7 separate regions of the Homo sapiens genome follow, and all the other regions are linked to region 1. The links are contacts of gene promoters, found by promoter capture Hi-C in blood cells and fetal thymus (Javierre and others, 2016). All regions are on one chromosome and are shown on one strand. Each heading gives the region's core, a stretch centred on a gene start or on the middle of the fragment in contact. The rest is flanking DNA. Distances are from core to core; before and after follow the strand shown.

What was found. The method cuts DNA at HindIII sites, captures the fragments that hold promoters and counts their contacts. A CHiCAGO score of 5 or more calls a contact.
Region 2: a contact is called between a fragment that was not itself captured here and the fragment with the promoter of BTBD9-AS1 in region 1, in 2 of 17 cell types (M2 macrophages and M1 macrophages). The highest score is 6.0, in M2 macrophages.
Region 3: a fragment that was not itself captured here is called in contact with the fragment with the promoter of BTBD9-AS1 in region 1 in 3 of 17 cell types (M2 macrophages, M1 macrophages and endothelial precursors); the score reaches 7.4 in M2 macrophages.
Region 4: a contact is called between a fragment that was not itself captured here and the fragment with the promoter of BTBD9-AS1 in region 1, in 1 of 17 cell types (M2 macrophages). The highest score is 5.5, in M2 macrophages.
Region 5: a contact is called between a fragment that was not itself captured here and the fragment with the promoter of BTBD9-AS1 in region 1, in 2 of 17 cell types (M1 macrophages and endothelial precursors). The highest score is 6.1, in M1 macrophages.
Region 6: a contact is called between a fragment that was not itself captured here and the fragment with the promoter of BTBD9-AS1 in region 1, in 1 of 17 cell types (M2 macrophages). The highest score is 5.7, in M2 macrophages.
Region 7: a contact is called between a fragment that was not itself captured here and the fragment with the promoter of BTBD9-AS1 in region 1, in 3 of 17 cell types (M2 macrophages, M1 macrophages and M0 macrophages). The highest score is 14.0, in M2 macrophages.

The regions. Positions count from the first base shown.
Region 1 is chr6:38,480,043-38,483,521 of GRCh38, reverse strand. BTBD9-AS1 (BTBD9 antisense RNA 1) reads right to left here and starts at 1,926. Exons shown (of 2, transcript NR_144472.1): 1 at 1,736-1,926; 2 at 995-1,455. All of the region lies in intron 6 of BTBD9 (BTB domain containing 9), which reads left to right. The HindIII fragment of the contact is 1,570 bases long and covers 1,729-3,298 here.
Region 2 is chr6:38,068,149-38,072,066 of GRCh38, reverse strand. All of the region lies in intron 3 of ZFAND3 (zinc finger AN1-type containing 3), which reads right to left. Among named protein-coding and RNA genes, the nearest start is that of ZFAND3, 250 kb to the right of the region's middle. The HindIII fragment of the contact is 3,504 bases long and covers 1-3,283 here.
Region 3 is chr6:38,049,105-38,052,786 of GRCh38, reverse strand. All of the region lies in intron 2 of ZFAND3 (zinc finger AN1-type containing 3), which reads right to left. Among named protein-coding and RNA genes, the nearest start is that of ZFAND3, 230 kb to the right of the region's middle. The HindIII fragment of the contact is 2,533 bases long and covers 684-3,216 here.
Region 4 is chr6:37,999,877-38,003,756 of GRCh38, reverse strand. All of the region lies in intron 2 of ZFAND3 (zinc finger AN1-type containing 3), which reads right to left. It also overlaps the pseudogene ITGAEP1. Among named protein-coding and RNA genes, the nearest start is that of ZFAND3, 180 kb to the right of the region's middle. The HindIII fragment of the contact is 2,204 bases long and covers 1,516-3,719 here.
Region 5 is chr6:38,112,807-38,116,501 of GRCh38, reverse strand. All of the region lies in intron 4 of ZFAND3 (zinc finger AN1-type containing 3), which reads right to left. Among named protein-coding and RNA genes, the nearest start is that of ZFAND3, 290 kb to the right of the region's middle. The HindIII fragment of the contact is 4,171 bases long and covers 1-3,481 here.
Region 6 is chr6:38,092,757-38,096,480 of GRCh38, reverse strand. All of the region lies in intron 4 of ZFAND3 (zinc finger AN1-type containing 3), which reads right to left. Among named protein-coding and RNA genes, the nearest start is that of ZFAND3, 270 kb to the right of the region's middle. The HindIII fragment of the contact is 1,626 bases long and covers 1,264-2,889 here.
Region 7 is chr6:38,017,592-38,021,389 of GRCh38, reverse strand. All of the region lies in intron 2 of ZFAND3 (zinc finger AN1-type containing 3), which reads right to left. Among named protein-coding and RNA genes, the nearest start is that of ZFAND3, 200 kb to the right of the region's middle. The HindIII fragment of the contact is 4,161 bases long and covers 1-3,798 here.

The DNA of each region.
Region 1 (3,479 bases), core at 677-3,176:
GTGATGGTAGTTGAGATTTTTGAAAGATAACTCTAGTGTGATCTAGTGTGAGAATGGACTATAGGGAAGACCAGACAGCAGGTGGGCAAGGAAAAGTGAATACAAGAGACTGGGAAGGAGCTGCCAGTGAGGCAGGAAGAAAACAAGGACAACATTTTCATGGAAGTCTTAAAAAGTCAGTCTTTCGGTATGAGGAGGGGAGATGGGAGAGGGCAGTAGGTAACAGAAAATCGACTCCTGGTTGTAGCAAGATAGAGCTTAGTGGCGTCCTTTAAGAGCCATTTCAGTGGAGTCAAGGGAGAAGGGAATAGAGGCTGAGGGAATAGGGGTAGCAATACATGTAGAAGATAAAGTATCACTGGGAGGGGAAGCAGAGAAATGATGAAGAGGATGGAGGGGGACCTAGGGTCAAGGGAGGATGATGTTAAGGTATGTGTGTGTGTGGACTGGAATGATACCACAGGGAGGGAGGATTTGATAATGCAGGAGAGTGGATCTTTGTAGGGGCCGTGTACCTCATTATGGGAGAGGGGCTGGATCTCTAGCTCAAGGAGAAGATTGACTTTAGGTAGAATTGAGGTTCCTTCTTTTCCTGTAACAGGAGGAAAGGCAGAGTATGTAGAATAGATGTACCCAGATTGAAAGAGGCAAAAATGGAAGCCTTACCTTCATGTTGACAGTGCTTGTGCCTTGGTGGGTCTTTGTGGTATATCATGGCCTCAAGCTCTGTTTTTGCAGGTCCACTGAGTTATTTGTGCTATATATATTCTTTTCCTACCCAGGCCATCTATCTCAGATACAGATCTGTTTACATGTCTGTCTCCCCCACTAAACTGGCATCTCTTCAACAAGAGTAGTTATCTTTGTATCTCCAGACATAGCTCAGTGTTTGGCAAGAACTGAGTTGAAGGAATGACAGCTACATCAGTAGAAAGGACTCATATAACAGCTACACAAACATGCGGTAGAAAGGAAAGTAATTCAAGAGCATGAATAAAATTAAGTGTTTATATCTTAGAATAATTAATATGATTTCTCTCTTTTAAGTGGAATACATTGTTACTGAACACCAGAATTGAGGGGTAGCTAAAAGTAAAAAAAAAAAAAAAAGAAAGAGAAAGGATCACCTCACACCTCACTACCATCTGGAAAGAAGATGAGCTTTTAACAGCCCCTTTCAGTAGGGACGAGTTAGTGCCTGGCATGCTTTGGTGGGAAGCACATTTCTAGGTTCAGGAGAAAGTGAGAATCAAACGTGTCTGGGAAAAGGAGATCCCAGTGTGATCAGCTTGCTTGTGGAAGATTAGCAGGGGTTGGGGGCGTAGAGGGCTTCGGGCAAGAGTAAATGTTAATGAGAGATGGCTTAAGCAGACTTGTGCCCAAACGAGTGAGAACAATTTGACAGGAAGTTCAGTTGAGCATGTGTAGCACTTCTCCAAATGCTTTCTTCTTGGACTGGGAAGAAACACAACAAAACAAAATAGTTACTTTCCCCTTCAACATTATACAGCACATCCTAAATGAAACATGACTTTCTGAGTTACAAGCTGCCCCTGGCAAAAAGGCTGGTTATAATCTCAGTGTGTTCCCTGAAACTAATGTTCCTTGGGCACTCCAGATTTGTGTGACGTACTGTAAGTTATATCCAACTGAACTGTTCTTTTAACTGCCTGCATTAAGCATCATCAAATAAGTTGCGCTGAAAGGAACCACCTGAATAAAGAAGCTTTTATACCTTTGTAAGTCCTCACTGCATGACCCTAGGTCACTGCTGTTGAACTTGGGAGCTTTCTCTCCCACTTTTCACTCTCTTGCCTTTAATGGATGGGGGTCTCCACACCAGGTTTTCTTTCTCTCTCATCTGCCAGGTGCTAGCAAATGGTGCTGCCAGCCTCATTAGGGGAGAGGGGGTAGTGTGGAGGCAGGCACTGGCCCCTCCCTCATGTGCCCCGCTTCCCAGAGGCCTATGGGATACCAACTGAAAAGAGGTCGTGAGCAGAGCTGCTCACCCTGGAATTCATTTTCTCTAGACTCATTAAAATGCTGCCTTCCTATCTCCCTTGGATTTTTACTTTTCAAAACACTTTACGATGTGCGGCCTCATTTTATTTTACATTAAGCTGACAACCTAACATCTCACCAAGTATCAACTGGGAATACAATTTTGCACTCACTGTGCTGTGCCATCTTGCCAAGTTTTGTCTTTGTTACTCAGCTCTCATTCAGAAAGGAATTAATTTGAATTATATGATGCTATGGTTGTCTCCTTGAAGAAGGGCTAGATTCCTGCACACCTTGGGAAAGTATCTATCTGTGAATGTACTTGAATCTTCCAGGTTATATGCCATTCTTCTCTCTTCTTTCCCTTTCACATCATCATGGGCTCCTCTCACGTTAGAATAAACCTTTCTGTTTTGCCTCTCCCTACTCAATGGGATTTCCATTGTTTCTGTCTTCACTTCCTTTTACCTGGGAGAAGCTGATACTGATGGAAAGGCATTTTTGAGTCTAGATATAAAGCTCTTTGTTTAAAGAGCATTTTTAAAAGAAGGGAATTTTTACATTGCCAAAGGTACCCAGGTGTTGCCTTCCTTCCCCATGAGGATTTTGCACAGAGCGCACATTCATACCCACTATCTCTTAGTGTCAGCCTGTGTGATGGCTATATGCTGTCTACCAACACTACAGTCTGTTTGGGAAGCGCCAAATCTTGGGTAGGCACTGGATCTAAAACTGGCACTGGAATCATCCACTCAGAGGAAGAAAGATTGAGGTCAGGTGGGGAATAAGACAGGCAAGTTGTCAGGCTTCTTTTCAGATGGTTCTCAGAGTACACTTCCATTACTTAGAACAGTGGGTTTGGTGGGGGGTTTTGGCGTGTTCTATAGCTGAGCTACAAGCAAAATTAGAGCTTTTTACTTATATACTACTTTGCATGGAGGTAGTCTCAGGGTCCCAGTTACAGCACTGATTTCTTGAAAAGAGTTTGATGTTCTGGCCCATGCTTAATTTAAATGAGAGGCTAAAAGCAGATTGTGTAACCCACCAATGCCCATTTGACAGGACTTGCACCAATCTGACCTACACTTTCATAAGAGCTCCTAAGCAGAGTGCTGTACTGTGGGTCTTCTGCCTTAACTCCAGGAATGGCAGAGATGAGCTACTGTTTATTGAGCACCGACAAAGGAGAGGTACTCTGAGTGTTGAATGCATGCTGTCTCTCAGCCCACAAGAGCCCTGCAAAGGAAGTGCATTGCTCCCCGTATTTATGGATGAGGAAGCTGAGTATCAAGAAGCTTGCTCAGAATCATGCAGCTAGCAAGGAGCAAGGCAGGGTTTCAGAGCTACGTTTATCTGTTTCCAAAGAGTACACTCTCCCCTCAATTCCCAGTAGTACTTCTCCAGTAAATCTTAAGTATTGTATTGCTTTTTTCCCTTCTATTTCTCTTAGCAGTCTATAGAAAAGAGCGTTTATTTAA
Region 2 (3,918 bases), core at 282-2,781, 410 kb after region 1:
CAAAATCTGGTAGGGACACTGCCTTTTTTTGAGTTGCTTTGTCTTGGGGTTACTGTATGGTACAGAAAATTATTTTAAAAAATTAAGTAGCTATTCAAAAATCAGGTACAGGCAATGAGAAGTCCCTTCTTTAATGTATCAAAACACATAAAGTAGGTTTCTAAAAGTAAGAAAAATTAAAAACAAAACTTTTCCTAAATATTTAAATCACTAACCATTTATTGAGTACTATGCCAGCAGTGTGCTAGGTGTTCTGGGACAGAGCAAAGTAGCATAAAATAAAGCCTCTGCTAATTTGGTGCTTAGTCTCTAAACTTGTGCAGAGAGATGACATTCTCTTGCCAAGAACATAGAAGAAGGTTTGAATAAATAAAGACAAACTATATTCCTTTATGAGAAGACCCAAAAGTTTATTAAAATGTCAATTATTCTGAAAAAAATCTATATATTCAATATAATCCAAATCAGAAGCTACTGATACATACTATAAAGGTATATTCCAGTTTCAGAAATATACAGGTTGACCAATAAAACAAAATAAAGAGCCTAGGAACAGATCTATGTCTTTATGTAATAGTATTAGCATTTTAAACTAGGACTATTCAATGAATGGTTTTTGCATAACTGGTTATCCACTTGGGAAAAAAAAATAAAGGTAAATCTCTATGCCTTAAATACAAAATAAATTCCAGATGGGCTCAAGAGCTAACGATAGAAAAAGATAAACCATGAAAGTATTAAATGTACATAGAAAAATATTTTTATAACTCTACGATTCAGACAGCCTTCTAAGAAAGACAGAAAACTGGAAGACAAAAGACCAACAGACTTAAAGTTTAAAAAATTCTAATGAATACAAGGCACTCAAATGAAAATTAAAAGCCAAGTAACATACCAAAAGAAACTGGCAATATATGTAACAAATACTTATCTAGAATTCTTTTTTTACATATATGTAACAAATACTTATCCAGAATTTGTTACATATATATATATATATAAAAGAATTCCTACAAATCAGTAAGAAAAAAATAGCTAATAAAAAATAAATAAGCAAAGAACAACACTGATAGGCAAATCACTGGAGACTTATAAATTGCTAATAAACACATAAAACAATGCTGAATCTCACTATCAGGAGATGTCTGGAAAACACAAGTTAAAATGAGCTATTCTTTTGCCCAACTTATTAAAAAAAAAGAAGAAGAAACAAAGAAAAAACCCACCTAATATTGGTAATGCTGTGGTAAACAATCACTCTCAAACATCATTCTTAGGAATATAAAGTCATACAGTCATTTTGGAAGGTAATATTGCCATGCAAATCAAAATTTTAAATATACATATTCTCTGACTTGTTAGTTCCTCTTCTATGTATTTATCATGGAAAAATAACATATGCACCATTAGCCACGTACAAAACTGTTTACTTGACATGGCTCATAATAGTGAAATATTAAAAACAACCTCCAGAGAAGAGAGTAGAGAAAAGGATAGTAAGGGCAATATAGAATATTATGCAGGAGTAAGGCAGATCTCCATGTGTAGACTTGGAAAGAGCTCTAAAATATATTAAGTTAAAAAGCAGTTATAAAACAATATATACAGTATGCTGTCATTTATATAAAAATAAAATCTTTTTTTTTTTTTTTTAGACTAAGTTTCATTCTTGTTGCCCAGGCTAGAGTGATCTCGGCTCACTGCAACCTTCGCCTCTCGGGTTCAAGCGATTCTCCTGCCTCAGCCCCCCGAGTAGCTGGAATTACAGGGGCCTGACACCATGCCAGGCTAATTTTTGTATTTTTAGTAGAGGTGGGGGTTTCACCATGTTGACCAGGTTAGTCTTGAACTCCTGACCTGGTGATCTGCCCACCTCAGCCTCCCAAAGTGCTGGGATTACAGGCGCAAGCCACAGCACCCAGCCAAGATAAAATCTTGTATGTAAACATGTACACAGCTGCATAGAAAAAATACAACCCATAATGAATAAACAGCGGTTATTTCTGTAAAAAGTAGGAATTGGGTGGTGGTGATTGATGGTGGTGACGTTAGAATATTTTCATGTTCTATTCTATCTAAACCTGTGTCTTTGTAATTCAAAAATTGAGAATGTAGTCATGTTTTACTTGCATACTTAAAAATAGGATTAAAAGTTTTGAAAAAGAAAAGCAAGCCAGAAAATGAATAACTTAAAAATCATGGTTTTGCTTTAATCTGGTTCTTATTTTGACTACAAATGGAAGGTCAGATGATACTACCAGTACTTAAACAAGTTCCTATCCAACTGACATTATGGAACAGAAAGAATTTCTATAAGAAAACACTGCTGAACTGCTCAACTCCTGTATTTTGACAGAGATTAACTTAATGATCTCACACATTGATTTTTGATAAATTATGGCTCTTCACTTCAATATAGCATATAACTGTACATTATTATACTGTACTGCAAAGTATCAATCTTTTCAGAACACAGCCCTAATAAAAGCAGCATGCTTTGCAGAACCAGCTTTGGGATGAATGAATAAATGCACTGGGGAAAAAAACACCGTTAAATTAAAATCAAAAGAGACATTTAAAGTTTGGGCATTCTTCATTATGGGAAAGAATCTTCCACTTTGAGACTATTATATATCGGAAAAACTCCATCTGTTGTATAATTATCTCTGATAAATGGCCTGATGCTTTGAGCTTCATTAGAGAAAAGCAAAGAGAAAGACACACACACAGAGAACTGTAAATAAATCTCCCCACCATATTTCACTTAAAACCAGCCCAGCAGGAAGTCATAAAATATTTTTTAATAGGCAATATTTTCTAAATGCTTTACTAGAAGAAACCAGCCTGTTTTGCCCAATATCTGGCCTCCTGAAGTAGGCATAGTCTGAAAAAGGGAACACTGGTTTCATTTAGAGATTATTAGAAATTTAATTGGTAAAAACAAACAAATCAGAAGTTTAGCCGCTTGGTGGCAGTGATACTAAATTTCCAGGGAACAGATTAAGGCTTGTCAGACAGAAATGAAGATATGTAGCCAATGACGCCCAATGGATGTTCAAAGACCCGGGGCAGTCTAGCAAGGACATCTGTTAAAAGGCACTACCATTTTTTAAATATCCCTGAGGGAGCTACGATATCACCAGAAACCAGTTTCCAAGGAAACAATGGAAATCTGTGTTCAACCAAATTAATTTAACCAGAGGTGGAGTACGTTCTGAAATTTCTATTTTGGGAATCAGTGTCATATTAAAGGAAAATCCAGTCAGCACCTGGAAACGAAGCTTTAGTCATTAAAAATCCTCACTAACATGCCAGTTAATATGGTTCTCACTTTTTCTGTATATTTTATTTTACTACAACAAAAGTATGTCTTGGGTGGATGCAGTAGACAAGAGCAGGAAAAAAACCAGAGTCCCGTATTATAGATGCAAAAGGCCCAGAGTTCAGTTGTGGCCCTCTCTTGGGACTTAAGGAGGGTCACTATCTAAACCTCCCTTTTTCATCTATAGAATAGGAAGGAGAATATTTGCCCTACCTATGCTGCACACTGTCAAGATGATTCTAGGAACATGTGTATCAAAGAACTCTGTAAAACAGGGTTTTGCAAACTTTTTCTGTAATAGGCCATTGGGTCTCCACAGCAACTACCCAACTCTGCTATTGTAGCACAGAAGCAGCCACAGACAATACAGTAACAAATGAGTGGGGCTGTGTTCCAATCAAACTTTACTTATAAACACTGAATTTGGAATTTCATGTATTTCCCACATTTCACAAAATATTTATTTGATTTTTTTCAGTTGTTTAAAAGAATAAAAATCATTCTTAGCTTGTGGGCAGCATAAAAACAGATGATAGGCTGGATTTGGCCTGTAGGCTATAGCTTGTCAACCCCTGTTGTAAACTATAGTTTTATGT
Region 3 (3,682 bases), core at 701-3,200, 430 kb after region 1:
TGGGATTACAGGCGTGAGCCACCACGCCCGGCGGTCAACATGGAGTGCTTTAATCATGACACGTGGGAGATTTTTTTATCCTCATATTCACCTTGGTAAATCCTACTCATATTTGAACTCTTAATATAAGCACTACTTCCTAAGGGAAGTCCTTAAGATTACCCATAGAAGGTACTTTATTAAATATTTGTTGGATAAATGAATGTCTTATTCACAGTGTGCCTCAGCCCCTAGCAAAATGCCTGCCACATAATACATAATATAAATTTGCTGAATTTAGCGTATTGGATACTGATGAACACACAAAGTTGAAAAATATTAATTCTCTTACAGACAATTTAAAATGGATTTTAAATTGCTACAAAATGTATTTATAGGAAGCAAGAGTGCTCCTACCTACAGGAGAAATATTAAGCACCCTGTCAATAAGTAGATGTTTGGATTTCATAAATTATCCCCACACATATAAAAATTTCTTCCTTATTATTCATCATGGATAACTGGTCCTAACAGGACTTACAAGGTCTCTCAAGTCACTTCCTGCTTGCTTAGATTTAAATCACAAAGCTTAAGATTTTTACGAGAGGCAAATACAGGTAACATTAGATTGGCTCCCAAAAGCATATCCTGAAATGTGTCTTGCAAAAACAGGCAACAAGAGAATATATGAAGCTGGCAAAGCTTACTCTTTTCAGCAATTAAACTTACTTTATAATCTAGTTTATCACTGAAATTATACATTCTCTAGATTCTTCACACCTATAGAGCCAACTACTCAGAGGTGTGAACTAGCAAAAAAAATTATTTGGAGTAAGGCTTGTTTCCTATACAGCATTTATTGTGCAGACTATACAGTTTTCCCTGTAACAGTGTTTCATATTCAATATTCATTTACAGGGCATAAATTAACTGTTAACATTACAGCAAATATCTAACAATCCATTAGTACTACAATAACATGTACATTTACCTCATTTCAGTCTAACCACAAAATATGTCAATTTTTTGAAAACACAGGGAGAAGTTTTCTGAATATTGTGGCATTAATCTAGTTCTAACAAAATATGCACTTTATGCTGTGTGCGCATATATACATACAGTTCAGCCATCAAAATTACAGATAGGGTTTGGCATATTGTGGAAAAACTGGGTAAAGCTGACAAAATAAAATAGGCAAGTTGGAGCCTAAAAACAAAACAAAAAACTTCTCTTTGTTTACAGTTGATCCTTGGTATAATCTAAAGACTTCCCCTCAAGCCATTAGTCCTTAGTGTCATTCATGAATTACTCCAATGGCACAGAAGTGGCATGAACGTAACTGCTGGAGAGGCTGGAGGCTGCAATATTTTACCCCAGACCTAAGGCTTTAAATGTCCCATAAAGACTTCAATGACAACAGAATAGAAAAGTAGAAAAGTATTTGGGAATAAATTAGCAAAAACAGCAGGTTAGCACCCCCCTTTTTAGATCACTGATTATTTCTATAATTGTATCCACAGTCCTAATGCTATTAGCCTTTCATTTTACCATGCAGATGTGACAGGAGAAAAGACAAAAAAATAATTCCCACTGCACCTCTCTTTTGAGGGAGAGGATGGTGGTGGGACTGGGAAAAGCCTAGGTGGTGGGACTGGGTAGAGCGGTGGTGGGACTGCTCTTGCCCACCTATGTATGCTCTTACAATCTGGTCCTATTCGTTCTTGCTTCCCTCTATTCACAAAGGCAGCTCCTGACTTAAGGGGCTATTCCTACCCCTAAATACTCCCTCAATACTCCCTGAGTATTTCTACTCAGTTCTCAGCCTCATCATCTCCTACCAGGGTCACACACCACCAATCTTCAGGTCTCCTTCATTTAAGCTCTGCTACTAAGCTGACCACTGCATCTGTTTCAGTAAATTCAACTTAGAGTGGTGATATTAACTTTTGAGACACGTTTTCCCTTAAGATAAAACTTGCAAATGTTCAGCTTAAATTCAAGAAATACAATATGTTATATTTTAAGAATGTCAGCTGGGCACAGTGGTGCACGCCTATAGTCCCAGGGTATTAGTCCGTTCTCATGCTGCTATGAAGAAATACCCAAGACTGGGTAACTTATAAAGAAAAGAGGTTTAATTGACTCACAGTTTCACATGGATGGGAAGGCCTCAGGAAACTTAGAATCATGGCAGAAGGGGAAGCAAACATGTCCTTCTACACAAGGTGGCAGGAGAGAAGTGCCAAGCAAACAGGGAAAAGTTCCTTATAAAACCATCAGATCTCATGGGAACTCACTCACTTTCACGAGAACGGCATGGGGGTAACCGCCCGCATGATACAATTACCTCCCACCAGCATGATGTGGGGATTATGGGAACTACAATTCAAGATGAGATTTGGGTGGGGACACAGCCAAACCATATCACCTGGCTACTAGAAAGGCTGAGGTAGGAGGATTGCTTGAGCCCAGGAGTTCCAGGCCAGCCTAGGTAACATCTCAAAACTCCATCTCTAGAAGGGGAAAAAGAAGCAAAGAATGAATTGCCTTCTTGGCCAGGCACGGTGACTCACGCTTGTAATCCCAGCACTTTGGAAGGCCGAGGTGGGTGGATCAACTGAGGTCAGGAGTTTAAGACCAGCCTGGGCAACACGGTGAAACCCTATCTCTACTAAAAATACAAAAATCAGCCAGGCGTGGTGACGTGCACCTGTGATCCCAGCTACTCAGGAGGCTGACGCATGATAATTGCTTGAACCTGGGATGCAGAAGTTGCAGAAAGCCAAGATTGCACCACTGTGCTACAGTCTGGGAGACAGAGAGAGACTCTGTCTCCCCCAAAAAAAAAAAAAAAAAAAAAAATTAATTGCCTACTCAAAAGTGGTGAATGAAGACGGGGTGGGTGTGAGGGGGAGGGGGTGGGGGTGGGGGTGGGGGAGCGAGGAGAGTCAATCTCTTTCCCAAAGAGTAAAAGACCAAGTAGTGGTTCAAACTTCTAAGATATATTTTTTTGAAGGATGAAATGATGGGCTTACTAACACTTTCTTCTTACATCTATTAAAGCATATCAGGGGGATGTTCAGAGAAGATGACAATGATCTTCCCAAGATTAGGGCTAACTGACTAATTTTTATCCAGTGAATCCAAGGTATCAGAATACATGATGTTTATATAATTCACAATTCCTAAAAGGTATCTATCTCCATATTAAGGCTATCAACTACTGATACAAAAGCTTTCTCCACTAGTGAGAAAAGCTCATGCACAACTAACCTACATATCCTCTGTCCCAGTAGGGTGTGTGTAACCAGACTGCCTGAGTTCAAATCCTGGCTCTATTTCTTAATTGCTGTGTAACCTTGGGCAAGTTACTTAACTTCTCTTGCTCTAGTTTTCTCCCTACAAATGAGAATAATAATACTATCTACCTAATAAAGTTATTTTGCAGATCAGATAATACATGTGGAAGTCTTAGAACGGTGCCTGACATATAGTAAATCTTGGATTAACCATGATTGCTATTCCTCTTCCGACTTCTTAAAAAGTTGCTAGCTTGAGACTAATGCAATGAAAATAATTTCTCTGGTATGAATTATAGCGAAGTCTTTGGCTTCATTAACAATGTACACTAACAAGCCAATCCTGGGGATACAAATACGAAAGTTTTCAGGGACCAGGTGGGTATCATGAATGTGTGAAGTTA
Region 4 (3,880 bases), core at 1,368-3,867, 480 kb after region 1:
AGGCAGGTGGATCACTTGAGCTCAGGAGTTCAAGGCCAGCCTGGTCAACATGGCAAAACCCCGTCTCTACAAAAAAAAAAAAACACAAAAATTAGCTGGTCGTGGTGGTGCATGACTGTAGTCCCAGCTACTTGGGAGGCTGAAGTGGGAGGATTGCTAGAGCCCAAGAGGCAGGGGTTGCAGTGAGCTGAGATCACACTGATGCACTCCAGCCTGGGCGACAAAAGTGAGGCACCGTCTCAAAAAAAAAAAAAGATTATGGATGGTTTTTAATACTAAAGGTTCATTTACTCATATTTCATTAATTGCATTTATAATAAAATACAATGTACAAGCTGTTTTAATTATTATAAACTAAATTAAAATACAGCGGTATAGAGGAGAGGGGGCAGATGACTATGGCAGTTTATTTGCTCAGTGCATCCCAGGAATAGCTTTCATTTCAGGCCTACACTTTGTGCATCCAAAGTCAGAAGCACACTTATGAGATCAATTTAGTTCAGCATGTGGAAGAATGGCATTCAGTGAGCTATGCCATCACGTCACATAAAGAAAATGTAACCATGGCTGCAGAGATTTCGTTGGGTCACTCTAAACTGTTACCAAGATATGTAACTGAACTGTGGATCCTTTCAACAAATCTCTATATGAGGGGCTGAATATAGAGAACCAACGAACTAAGATCATTGTCATCTTCCTGAAAGATGAGAAGTAACATTCTTTGCCTACCATCATTGGAGGCAACGTTGATGGCCTTCTGGTTTTGATAATTATAGTCATTCTGTCCAAGTGTGGCATTTTCCCCCCAGCCCTCTTCTCGTGTTAGCAAGGTATGTGGCTTTTTAAAAAGAAAATATCAATAATTGAACTTAGCATAGGGAAGGCCCAGATGAAGCCAGCGAATCTGCTCACAGAAAAAAAATAAGATCTGCTCTCTCATCTACTGGGAGATAATATCAACCAATCCTCGAAATTCTAAAGACTTGGTGTCGTACTGATTGCTTTTTCCTTTAGGATGATCTAGAGTAGCATCGAACAAATTGTGGACTATCATAGGGTGTTTTATTTTGTTTTTATTGTTGTTGTTTTTTTGAGACAGGGTCTCACTCTTTCACCCAGGCTGCAGTGCAGTGGCAATTGCAACCTCCACCTCCTGGGCTCAAGTGATTCTCCCACCTCAGCCTCTTGAGTAGCTGGGACTACAGGCACAACACCGAGCCAGGCTAATTTTTGGATTTTTTGTAGAGACGGGATTTCACCATATTGCCTAGCCTTGTCTCGGATTCCTGGGTTCAAGCAATCCGCCCGCCTCAGCCTCTCAAAGCGCTGTGATTACAGGTGTGAGCCAACATAACTGGCCTAGAATATCGTGTTGTAACCACATATTTTCCCAAAACTGTATGCACTGTGCAAAAAGTAAACCTGGGAAACATTTGATGTTAAACTGTTTTCTTTAAAAAAAAAAAAAAAAGAAAAGAAAATACAGTAGTGTAATTTAGAACTAAACTATAAGCTTCCTGAGGGTATCATCTTTGTATCCATTATGTCTTCATTGAGCTTGCAAGTATTTATTGTTGAACTAAGCCTAGTTTATGTTTCTATAGGCTTAGTACGCATGAATATTTATAGTATATCTTCTTAAGGAAAACAACATCTCTTGAGTATTCTATAATTCAGCCGTTTTATTGAATAGGACAAAATCTCAGGCTTTCTGCATTTAAAATGTTCACACTTGACTGTATTTTCACTGGTAAAAATGTACTTCTCTAGTAATACAATAAATTTGATCAAGGATGCTAAACTCTGTATTCACCTAATATATCAATATTTAGACTAAAAGAAAAGACTAAAAGACAAAAAGAAAAGATAACAGACCAACAGCCATAACTCAATTCTCTTGTGTGCAACTACTTTTTACTCCTAGGGACAAAGGAGTTGCCTTTACTTTTATTCCTCTGACCTTCTCTACAGAGCTTGCCGGAAGCTATGGGAATGCACAAATACATGTTTATCCATGTTCTGAAAGAGGTTTTCCAAGCTGAATAAACCAGACATCTCACTCCACCAACTACATCATACAAATTTAGTTTATTTACATATGACCAAGGGATGAATTAATGGCTGAAAAAAAAAGTGCTAACATCAACCCTGTGATTTTATGAAGTAAAAAGTAATTCTAAATTCTAGAGCTCTGAACCTTTGGCCAAAAGCCCACTAAAAGATAAGACTGTAATAGAGTTTATGTTGCTCTGCTCTGTGCAAAGATCCTAGGAAAAATAAATGAACTGGGCAGGAAAGAACACCAGGATGGAGATCATTTGTAACAGAACACAGACTGTCTTACAAGATACATTTGCATCAGCCCTTCAGTTCCCAGTCCTAACTATGATTTCAGGAGCACCTTGTGCCTTCCAGAAGGTCAAACACTAGTAGTAATGGATCTGTGAAGAGGAGAGCAGTGAACCAGTGTCAGAAATAACAAAGCATTGTTTCTAGGGGATTATTATTCAACTGGAAGTTGGGACTGTCCTACTCCAGGTCAAGAGAAAGTAACTTATTTAAAAGAATGAATAAAAATGAGTTAGAATACTTTCTACACTAAGGGTGGTCAGAGTTATTTTGAAGATTTTTTAAAAATCTCCTTAGTAAAAGGATATACAAGCATTCTTGCATTTCTAAATTACCCTGCATTCTTCAACCTATTCTCCTTCAAGTGTGATTAGAGCGAACTCTGAGCTTTATTCAGTGCATCAGAGGAAGGTCCAGTGCCTATAATTTTCTCATTCATGAATATTTCTACTTCTAAAAAGAAAGAAGCATTAAGCAGAAGGTAGGCGCAAGACTCAGTCAGTGATATGGTTTGGTTGTGTCCCCACCCAAATCTCATTTTGGAATAAAAGTAAAGACAACTCCTTTGTCTCTAGGAGTAAAAAGTAGTTACACACAAGAGAACTGAGTTATGGCTGTTGGTCTGATATCTTTTCTTTTTGTCTTTTAGTCTTTTCTTTTAGTCTAAATATTGATATATTAGGTGAATACAGAGTTTAGCATCCTTGATCTAATTTATTGTTTTACTAGAGAATAATTCCTACGTGTCATGGGAGGGACAAGTGGGAGGTAACTGAATCATGGGGGCAGGTCTTTCCCAGGCGGTTCTCCTGACAGTAAATAAGTTAAGTCTCATGAGATCTGATGGTTTCATAAAGGGGAGGTCCCTTACACGAGCTCTCTTGCCTGCCACCATGTAAGATGTGTCTCTGCTTCTCCTTTGTCTTCTGCCATGATTGTGAGGCCTCCCCAGCCATGCCAAAATGTGAGTCCATTAAACCTCTTTCCTTTATAAATTACCCTGTCTTGGGTATGTCTTTATTAGCAGTATAAGAATGAACTAATAAATACAGTCAGGATCTATGAAATTTTCGCTCTTTCACAAATTTGTTTGGAGGGCATGGGAAATACAGTTTCTCAATTTCAGAATTAGATGAGAAGAATTTATAATTAATTAATGGAAGGTGCTATGGGTCTCGCAAATGATCAATATCAATCTGAGATCAACATCATCTCAAAACCTCTCAGGATCATCACAGTAAGTTTTTTGGTTTGTTTGGTATCTGAATTTGCTTTTATTTTTTTAAAAATTGTTTAAACTCCAATAGGGGGATAAGTAAAAGCAATTCTACTTGTGCCACCCAGAAGTATTTTCCTTTTTTAAAAAAGCTTTATTTATTTTTTCCTTCTAATCAATGGAATCTATAAAGCTTTATTTTTTAGTAATAGTTTTAGATTTATAAAAAGGTTGCCAGGATAGTACAGAGAATTCCCATATACTCAGGAGCCAATTTCTCCTATCATTAATATCTTACACTAGTATGGTATATTT
Region 5 (3,695 bases), core at 147-2,646, 370 kb after region 1:
TCCAGGCATTCTCCTGACCAGGCTACTGCCCTTGTCCAGGAATCAGACAGGTGAGAGCCAGTTCTGACTTGCTTGGTTTATACTGCACAAACTATGACAAACGTGTACCTTTAGTGCTGACTTCTAACAAGCTAGGCCTGAGCTGGAGAGGAGGGTGTGGGTGGCTCAACAAAAACCAGTTCTATGTTGTTGTTTTTAAAAAGAGCTGAGATTCTATGAGGAGACCATTCCAGCTAGAAATGGGGTCCTGTCTTTGTATTCCCTTGCTGGGACCTAGATGCTTACTGCCTGTATTGGTTAGATATCTTTTCTTGGGCATTTGCTTGTCCTCAAGTAGACCGTAATTCTTTAGAGATGGGACTATGTCTAATGTATCTCTGTATCACTATGCTTTCACAATTCCATTCCCAAAGCCAGCGTTTGATGAGTGATCTGTAATCTTTTATAGTAAAATTACTCACGTTTCTACTCTTAAAGACACAGAAGTCAGGTTCTAATACTGACAATTAGTTCAATTTGATTCAGAATGAAGGGGCACCTCTGCTGGTACACATGCAAGCTGCCCTATGAACTCCACCATGGGGTGGTGCAGCAGCAGCAGCACCAGGCACCCCACCTTGAGGTGGAGCCAAAATGGTAGGTGGAGGGGGGTGTACTCTGTGAAAACTGTGTCTTGCACAACTTCAAAAAAGTAATTAAGACGCAACAAAGCTCTTATCACAGGCAAGGCTGTAAACGACTCTTGCCTTCAATAAACTGGGCAGCTCTTTGGGGCTCTGTATTCCTGAAACAGCTGCTTGCATACCCACGATGTACCTCTTACCAAGTTCCAAATTGTTTGTGCTAAATTACTTCCAGAAGGGAGTCTCCTAAACAGTCTTCCTCAAAATAATCCAGATGCCACACCTCTTACCCCTCTGTCACCCCCACCTTGGTCTAAGCCATTACCAACTCATCAAGCCTACTACAAGAGCCTCTTCACTGGTCTCTCTGCTCATCCCCTTGTTTCTACAGTCTATTCTCCACATAGCAGACAAGTGACTCTGTTAAAAATCAAGTTAGATCATGTTACTTCCCTGCTCAAAACCCTCTAATAGCTCCCCTTGTCAGAGTGAAAGTCCAGATACTTAGACTCTCAAATACCCTGCATGACTTGCCCCACGCTCAGCTCCTGCTGCTTTCCTTCCTTTGCTTATCTCTACACTAGCCTCCTTATTGTCTCCTACCTGTGGTACTTTGTACCTTCTATTCCCTCTGTCTGAAACACTCTTCACCCAGATCTACATGGGATCTTATCTCTTTTATCACCCAGGCCCCTGATGGTGATGATGGTAGTTTGCTCACAGTCCCCCAGCCCTGCTGCACTGTACTGGCATATGGAGGCCCTGCATCATTCCCTTTGATATCTTTGCTCCAACGTCACATTTTCTTTTAAATTTTATTTTGCAAAGTCACATTTTCATTGAAGGCTTCTTCCCTGATCATCACTTCTAGATCACTGAATCCCTATTCTTAGCACTTCCCCTCGTCTGTTTCCCTTTTATTCCTCCACAGCACTTATCTTTAACATTATGCCCTAAAAGAAAGCAAACTCCAAGAGGGCAGGAAATTTCACCTGCTTTGTTTACTGATGTTCCCTCCATGCCTATGGCTCAATAAATATTTTTTGAATGAATGAATTTGTCTCCTAGGCAGTCCTAATGTTCTACTTAAAGTGGCTCTAGTGAGAAGCCACAGCCTATAGGATGTATTTTAGTGAAGGCTGTCTGTATGCCCTTTCCTAGCCTCCCTGTGTGTGAGGAAGATGCTGCACTTCACCCAAGATTGTCCAGTGGACCCCGATGGTGATGCTGGTAGTTTGCTCATAGTCCCCCAGCCCTGCTGTGCTGTACTGGCATATGGAGGCCCTGCACCATTCTTAGCAACTACAGACTTCATTTTTCATCTCATTTAATTCTTCCAGTCCTACATGACATTTTGCCCCAATACAAACCAACTAAATAAGGACTCTGATGAAAACAATTGAAGGCAAGTTCAGCCTATTTCCCAGCTCTGCTGAGCAAAGCTGTCCAGGCCCAGTCAGTGTGGTGAGTAAGGTGGCTACAGATAGGGCAGGCGCTCTCCCTTCTTCTACAAGAGCAACAAGCAACAATTTAAATATAAATCATTACAAAGCAGTCAGCTGAAAGAAATTCACCTTGTATGAGCCACACTGCTCTCTGCGGGCGGGGTCCTTTTACACAAACCAGCAATGGCTCTATTTGTATCAATAACCCTATTTAGAATTTTTTTTTTGTAACAAGAAAATTCTAGGGTAAAAACTGTAACAAAAAATGTTTTTTTCTGAGACAAAGTCCTAAATTCAAAGCATCCTTATAGGAAATTACTCCCACTGGGAGGCAGGTGTCAGCACAAGATGGGGAGGCAGCTGAGGCCTTTTCATTATTACTATGATTAAAATCTGGAGGGCCTTGGCACAATGCCAGCACACCTCTACTCTAACACAGAACTGCTCAGACCCTGAGCCCCTTTCTTTCACACCTCTGTGTCTGAAAATGCAGAGTTCACATTTAGAGCTCTTTCTACATGAATCTATCCCAAACCGTCAAACATGCTGTTCATCTGCAAAGCACCCATTTCTAAAACAAACCTTTCCTGCAAGGAGAAGACAATTTAATTTCACTGTGTCAATGAAGCCGGGGGAAAAAATAAAGACAAAAAGAATTTCAGTGTGGCAATATTATCCATAAGGTAACTATGTCCAAATAAGTAAGGGAGTTAGATATGTGAAGAAAAATTTTTTAAATGTATGAGTCCTATGGCTGAGAAATAGAATTCATATTTACATAATCACAATCATTAGTCATCACCAAACAACCCACTTTGATGGGACCCCCCAACCCCTGCCCTGCAAAGTTAGGAGGCCTGTGCAGTCTTGACCTCTTTTTCTCTTAATTCCCCATCTTACCTGACCAATGGGCATTCAATAGCAACACTAAGGAATGTCTACATGATCCCATGCTGAGATTTTCCTTGATCTATTCCACATTAATATAAAGACCACTGAGTTATTTGTTCTGGTAGGCAGTAGGCATGGAATATTCTTGAACAATGAATCCTAAAGGAGGTTTCTGATGCTGCCACAGCTTCTGGTATGATATACTGATCATCCTAAAAGAACACCATTAAGCCCTACTCGATCCTCTGACAATCAATGTCCCAGCATCCGTACAAGTCTATGACCAAAGGCATCCATGTACAGGAAGTCTGGGCCCCAGGAAGCAATGCTAGATGATTCTAAAGCAAGGCAGAAGAAATGTCTAACAGAATGTGTTATGTTTTAGAATCAAAGAACTATTCCAGATAGCAAGAGATCCACACCTTTGAAGCTCTGGAATATGCCCACTTACCCTTCCCTAGATGAAGATCTGTTAGATGCTCTCTAATGCTCCCTGCCACCAAGAGCGAGGGTAAATAAGCTTCCAAAACTGCTCACTATCCTCCACAAGCTATTGCCCAAGAAGGTGACTGTGTATGTGTAATTTCTTCGAGAAGCAAACCATTCTCCGGCATTTTCTCACAAGTCAACTTAGTGTTTTAATGAGAAGCTAATGAAATAAATAGTAATCTATAGAATCATCCTCACTTGCATAAGAAATTTACATTTCCTCTGCTAATTAGTTAATGAAACCTTT
Region 6 (3,724 bases), core at 827-3,326, 390 kb after region 1:
ACACAACCCTGGCTGGGCACAGTGGCTCACGCCTGTAATCCCAGCACTTTGGGTGGCTGAGGCGGGTGGATCACAAGGTCAGGAGTTCGAGATCAGCCTGGCCAATATGGTGAAACCCCGCCTCTACTAAAAATACAAAAGTTAGCCCGATGTGGTGGCAGGTGCCTGTAATCCCAGCTACTTGGGAGGCTCAGGCAGGAGAATCGCTTAAACCCGAGAGGCGGAGGTTGCAGTGAGCCAAGATCACACCACTGCACTCCAGCCTGAGTGACACAGCAAGACTCTGTCTCGGGGGGTTGGGGGGGACAACAACAACAAAACCCTAATGAGTTCTAAAAGTGAAAAAAATCCAGGTATATTACTCATAAAAATGATAATCAGTGGCATCTGACTTCTTAGTAGTAACATGGAATACTAGAAGACAAGAATGCAATTACTTTTTTTTTTGAAACAGCATCTCAGCTCTGTTGCCCAGGCTGGAGTGCAGTGGTGCAATCATGGCTCGCTGTAGCCACGACCTCCTGGGCTCAGGTGATCCTCATACTTCAGTTTCCCAAGTAGCTGGGACCACAGGTGCGCACCACTATGCCTGGCTAATTTTCTGTATTGATTGTAGACACAAAGCCTCACCATGTTGCCCAGGCTGGTCTCCAATTCCTGGGCTCAAGCAATCCACCCACCTCCACCTCCCAAAGTGCTGGGAATTACAGGTATGAGCCACCGTGTCTGGCTGAAGCAATGACTTTCATCCGAGAATTGTTACTCAAATTTTCCAACATAATGGAAGCAGAAAAAAATTTTCAGATATGCAGGAACTCTAACACTGCTTCTTTTAGGCACTAACTTGGGGGTGTATTTGGAAAAATGAGAGAATAAAAGCTTGAGCAGTGAAAGGAAATTCTAGGATGTCACCGCGGGCTTACAGAATCTAGTTCAGATTGGAGAGGAAAGACCGGTAGGCGCTAGGAAAAAGGTTTCAGGTGAAAGGTGTAAATACAGAGTTAGGAAGTAAGTGGTGACGTAAAACCAAATACTGTAGAAAAAAAAAGAAAGGCAATTATAAATGCCAGGGGTGGGGGGACCTGTATTAAAAAGCTATAATGCAAATATAAGGCAAACTAAGATGTGGCATGATTTTTGAGCAACTGATGGAATATAATAAAGGATCAATTTGGCTTTGCTGTAGTAACATTCTTTTTCCATGGCTCAGAGATTCTTATGCAATGGCTCACAGATGCTAGCCCTGAAAAGTAAATGAAAGCTTGCTTTCTAAATAGTTCACCATTAACTGTTTTCATTAGACCCATAGAAAAAGAAATATATTCTTAGCATGTATCACGGTGGCCTGACAGGGAACGTTTACAGAGTCATAATAATGTAAATGTCATATATTGGGCTTTCAATTTTTTAGGAACAACCTATGAACATACATGGAGGATTTGCTTCTGGTTACAGCCTGACTGTAAATACAGGTTGAGTATCCCTAATCCTCAAATCTGAAATCCAAAATGCTACAAAATGTTGAGCTCTGGAACATGGTGCTCAAAGGAAATGCTCATTGGAGTATTTCAGATTTGGGATTCTCAGATTTGGGATGATCAACCAGTAAGTATAATGCAAATATTAAAAAATCTGAAACCTGAAACGCTTCTGGACCCCAGCAGTTTGGATAAAGGGATACTCAACCTGTATTAACTAACAACCATGACATATAAAAATTACAAGTGTAGCCGACCGAAGATATGATGAATAAGTATTTCCAATCAGATGTATTAATATCCTCATTAAGAGATGATGCTGAAAGTTGATGGATCAGGAAAGAATGAAAATCAACAATAAAATAGCAAACACTGGGATGAGGAATAGTATAAGCTAAATCTTCCTATTTCATGCCAGTTGACATCTCAAAAAGGAGGACTTTAAGCATTATTTTCCTCTCATAATTACAAGGTAACCTACAGAACAAAGGTACTAAAACTGTCAAGAGAGAAACACTGGTCAGCTTTGTGGAGTAGGATCATATCCAAGTTATTACTTTCTTTTCTAAGCTATTCTGTGATATGGTGTGTTACCATATGTTACTTTTATAAAAATGAAATCTTATTAAAAAACAAAGAGAGCACCACTTGTTCCCCTTTGCTTTTTTTTTTTCTTCTGGATTAAATGCAGTACCCATGGAAAGTGTTACTTTGGCCCACTATAAACTTAAACTACTTAATGACAGCTTGAATTAGCTACTACTTGTAGATGCTATCTTCCCTCCTCAGTCCACAATAGTTCCTTCCTTATACCCTCAGCTCTCTGCTGCTACTTACAACTTATGGTATTATTTTTTCCTTTAATCAGAACACGGCGACCACCTTTTCTAGGAGAAACTCCCTAGTTCATCTTGTCTCAGCTAACTATCTACTCATTTACTGAGAAAATCTCTGACTGTATGTCCTTCCTTACACTCTTAGATAGAAATAACCCTTCTGGGTTTCTGCCTCTGCTGAGTCTTGCTTGTATGCCTCTTCCATTTCTCCTCTAATCTTTTCTATTTCTCTTCCTGGATCCCTTTTCTTTGTATTTTAGTAGGGGCAAAATAGTTCACTATTTTAACCACCTCCACACCAAAAAATGCCCGACCCTGTCTCTCCCTCCAACCACCACTATTTGCTAGTTTTTAATGGTTCAATTAACTCCATAATGAATGATTTCTGTCTGCTGCCTTTATTTCCTTGTTATCAAGGCCCTCTTTAATGATTTCAGGCTTTCGTTTCCCACACATTACACAAACTTCGTTCAGGTTTTCCAGTGATCTTCTGCTAGCCATGGCCATAGCTTTCCTTAGTCCTCACATTTCCTGATCCCTCTTCTCATGCATCTTTCATGATCCTGTGGGAAGCTTTCTCCTTTCTTTAGCTTCCTTAACTCACTGGCTCCTCTTTCTCTTTCCTGCCCTGAAACACAGTCCTTACCCCCCATTCTTCTTCTTTATTCATTTGCACAGTTTTAATCATTGTTTCTAAATTAGCAATTTCTAAAACAGGCTCATATTTATAATTTTCTATAGGACTATAATAATTTAACTCATCAGAAACTGAAAATAGTTTCAATCAAGTTTTCTTCCTACTCCTTCCCTGTCAGTTACATCTTTCTTCCCTCAGTTCTCCAGATTTATACTTTGCAGTCTTTCTTCAGCCAACTCTAATCAGCCATCAAATCCTGTCAATTACTCTTTTCAAACATATCTTAATCAGATTTATCTCTCTTTCTCTATTCCACTGGCCACTACCCACAGAACATTCCTGAATAAATCAGTAGGAACTGGTTTTTTTGGCAAGTCAAGTATTACTTTATATGCAAAAGGAAAAACCTATTTACATTAACCCAATGGCAAGGCATTTTATAGACTGAAGGATCCTCCTATAACATTAATTCTTAGTTTATGTAGCTTATACTACTGGGATTAGCATGTATTAGGCTTCTTCAAAACTGAGATACACCTAGGCACACCTTAAGGCATCAGAGAAAAACTACAATATCTCTAACAGTAGGAAGTCTCCTGATAGGTTAGTTTTGAGGGTACTACACATAAAGATGTGTATTTACTTAAAGGCACAAATGACAAATACATGAAGTACCAGAATGCTGATAAACTCCTGGATCAAACCGGAAAGCCCTTTCCAAAAAGTATTCTTCTGTGGCTCCGTTACAGATTTCTCCTATCTCAAAGGTCTCA
Region 7 (3,798 bases), core at 773-3,272, 460 kb after region 1:
AAACATGTAGCTATGAATAGCATAGTCCTCCCTTCTTTCCTACCTCTTCTCTCACCTGCACCTTTTAAAAAGGGCACAGTAGCAGACTTTAATGCTCACTGGCTTTCATAGACAAATCATTAATCTTCTCCACATTACTTATCGCGGCAGCTGGGATAATGTTTGCTCTAATCTAACAGATTTTCATTTCAAAACCAATTGTAAAGCTCAGCAGGGTGCTATATACAACTTTAATGAGAGCTTCTTACCCAAGACTCCTCCAATATGTGCTTTTTCTGAATTGTTGAATTTTACTAGTTGGAGGTTGTTAAATGAAGAAAGGAAAAGGTTAACCAAGAAACAGAATTTTTAAAATGTATTTCCTTTCATATATTTTCTGTTCATATAAGTATAAAACACTAATAAATTTGACCCAGCTGATGACAGAATTTATCTTCTGTGATTTCTAAGCCAGCTCTATGTAACTCCTTTATAGACCATTTTACATAGCATCCTTTGGCTCCCTACACTTAATGCAGAGCAAGAGAGTAGCTATGTAAACCTGCTGACAGCTGTTTAATACGAGAGGTGGAAAGTAGTGGACATATCCTGGCAGTGTGCTTAATGGATACACAAACACCACGGTCATCAGCCTGAAGTGATTCTGGCAGAAAATTAACTTAGAGATACAAAACTCATTTGGTGAGAAGATCCACAGCAATCTGGACAATATCAGGCTGTGTAATGGGGAGAGAGGCAAAATAAGGAGATGTATTTTCCTAAACTTCCCTTTAAGGAGGAAGAATTTTAAAAATATTTTTTATCCACATGCCATTACATAGTTGTCTTGCTTTAACACAAAAGCCAGCAGTTGTCTCCTCTTTGGAAAGCAAATGCTACCATTTATTTATAAATAATGCAATAAATAGAGGGATAGAGTTATGTTGGAGACTTGTTTGTTAATACAAAAGTATTACTAAAGCACAGTATTTTTTTGAGATAATTTGAAACATGTTTTTTTTTTTAACCACCAAGTGATTCTACTTAAAAAAAAATTTTTAATTATCTTTCCGATCACTATGATGTTTAAGTCAGATGAAGGAAGAAAACTAATGTGTGTTGGATTATAAATTATAACACTGTGCTTTAAGAATATAATTAATATATACATTATCTTCCAATTCTCGTAACTACTCTGGAGGCAGGTATAATTATTCTCATTTTACATATGAGAAAACAAAGTTAGATACATTAATCTGTCTATCTCACACAGCAGTTAGGTAACAAAGCTATGATTTGCCCATGTGCCTGGATCTACAGTCTATGCCATGCAGGCCCATCCTGCAGTTAAACAGCAAAGGCATTATGAGAAGGCCAAAATAGTGTTTTGAGGCTGGGTGTGGTGGCTCACGCCTGTAATCCCAGCACTTTGGAAGACGAAGGCGGGCAGATAACTTGAGGCCAGGAGTTTGAGACCAGCCTGGCCACCATACTGAAACCGTCTCTACTAAAAATACAAAAATTAGCTGGGTGTGGTGGCATGTGCCGGTAATCCCAGCTACTTGGGAGGCCGAGGCAGGAAAATGACTTGAACCCAGGAGGCAGAGGTTGCAGTGAGCCGAGATCGTGCCACACTGTACTACAGCCTGGGCAACAGAGTGAGACTCCATCTCAAAAAACAAACACAAAATGGTGTTTTGATATTAATGTTTAAGATGTCTTTCATCAAAAACATAAGCCTAGTTAACTATAAAAAGCAAACCGAAGAAGCATTTAAAGAAAACATAAATTTTTCTAAGGGACAACCTTCAGAATGACCCAAAAAAACCCCAGAAGCCATAAAAGTAAAGACTAATATATTTGACTACGTAAAAATAAAAACTTTCTGTATTTCAACATATGCCATACATGATCAAATGACAAATTGTTGGAGAAAATATTTGCAACACACAGTATAGAAAAGGACTCATTTTCTTAATGTGAAAAGGGCTCCCACAAATAAAAAAGACCCAAAGTCTAATAGAAAAAATGGACAAAGAGCATGAACACAAAATTCACAGAAATCTGAATTACTCTTTAAGTGTATTAAAAATGTTCAACCTCAACATATACAAACTAAAGCAAAATAAGATATCATTTTAACAAATCTATCAGGCCGGGTGTGGTGCCTCATGCCTGTAATCCCAGCACTTTGGGAGGCCGAGGTGGGTGGATCACGAGGTCAGGAGTTCAAGACCAGCCTGACCAAGATGGTGAAACCCTGTATCTACTAAAAATACAAACATCAGCTGGGCGTAGTGGCAGATGCCTGTAATCTCAGCTACTTGGGAGGCTGAGACAGAATTGCTTGAACCCAGGAGGTGGAGGTTGCAGTGAGCCCAGATGGCGCCACTGCACTTCAGCCTGAGTGACAGAGTGACACTCTGTCCCAAAAAAAAAAGTCTATCAGATTGGCAAAAATAAAAAGTTTCTTCTCTGCTGCCAGGAGAATGGACTCTCAAACACTGCCAGTGGGAGTGTAAATTATTTCAACCTCTACAGAGGGCAATTTGGCAATATCAAAATGAAAAGTGCACATACACTTTGACCCATCAATTCTACATCAAAGAGTTGATCTTACAGATATAATCTTGCATGTACAAAGTACCCTACATACACAAATAATAACTGGAGAGTTGTTTTAGTAAAAGCCTAGGAGGGGGTAATCTAAATACTCCAAAACAGAGAACTGGTTTAATAAATGGCAGTATAATGTAAAACTATACAGCCACAATAAAAGAATGAGCATTGGTACCGATACGAAATGACCTCCAAGAAATTCTGAGTAGAAAGAAAAGGGCACAGCAGAGGTGTAAATATGAAAAACAAAATGAGTATAAATGTGTGGATGGGGATCAGGAGCAGGTGGGAGATTTAGCGTATACCCTTATACCTTTTAAAAATTCTGTGGAATGTGTGTACTTCCCCTTCAAAAACTTAGTATGTTTTTATGTTTAAAAAAATAAAACGTTATATGTTTTGAAAATAGAATGTAAAGAGGAAAACGTTACCTGATAATGGCTTTATTGTAATCACTTGTGATATATTACAAAACAATAGTTTTAGGTTCTTTGTATTTCATTTCAAAATGCAAACCTAACTAAAATGTTCTTCATTTATTAATATGAGAAGATACTAAAGGAATGTGTAGTATCAGTGGGCCCCTTTTATAATAAAGATTATGGATGATGAGGCTAATGACCATTTTATAAAAATAGGAGTCAGGTTACAGGTGATATTACCTGACCCATCTTATTCCAAAAGCCACATATAAACATGCTAAACTCATATTATATTAAGATAACTGGCACCTCAACTGTGATAGTATAATGTCATTTTAGTCCACCAACAACTGCAAAAGGGAGCTGATCCTCAAAGTCCGCAAAAAGGAGGGAAGGGCAAATTATAAGTAGTTTTCTGGGAACCTAGGAAAAGGCATACTTTTGAGAATGAGATAAGACTTGGGGGAGGGGACAATACCCAAAACCAGAGATCAAGAATGCTGACACGAATAACATGAATATTATTTTCTGTAGTTTGAGAAAATATAGTTAACACTCATTTCCATAAAACAAACAGGTCTGTATCATTGCCTAGGAAGGTAAACTGTAAAGGGAGTTTCCCGGAAGACTGAAATATACATCTAGAAATATATGATTCTTTTTTTTTTTAATGGGAGCAGGAGTTTCCCTCTCCAGTGAGACACAAACACCAGGTCTCTCCTCTATCCCAACTTTTCAAGTATCAAATATAGAAATTCTAAAAATGTATATTCCCTTT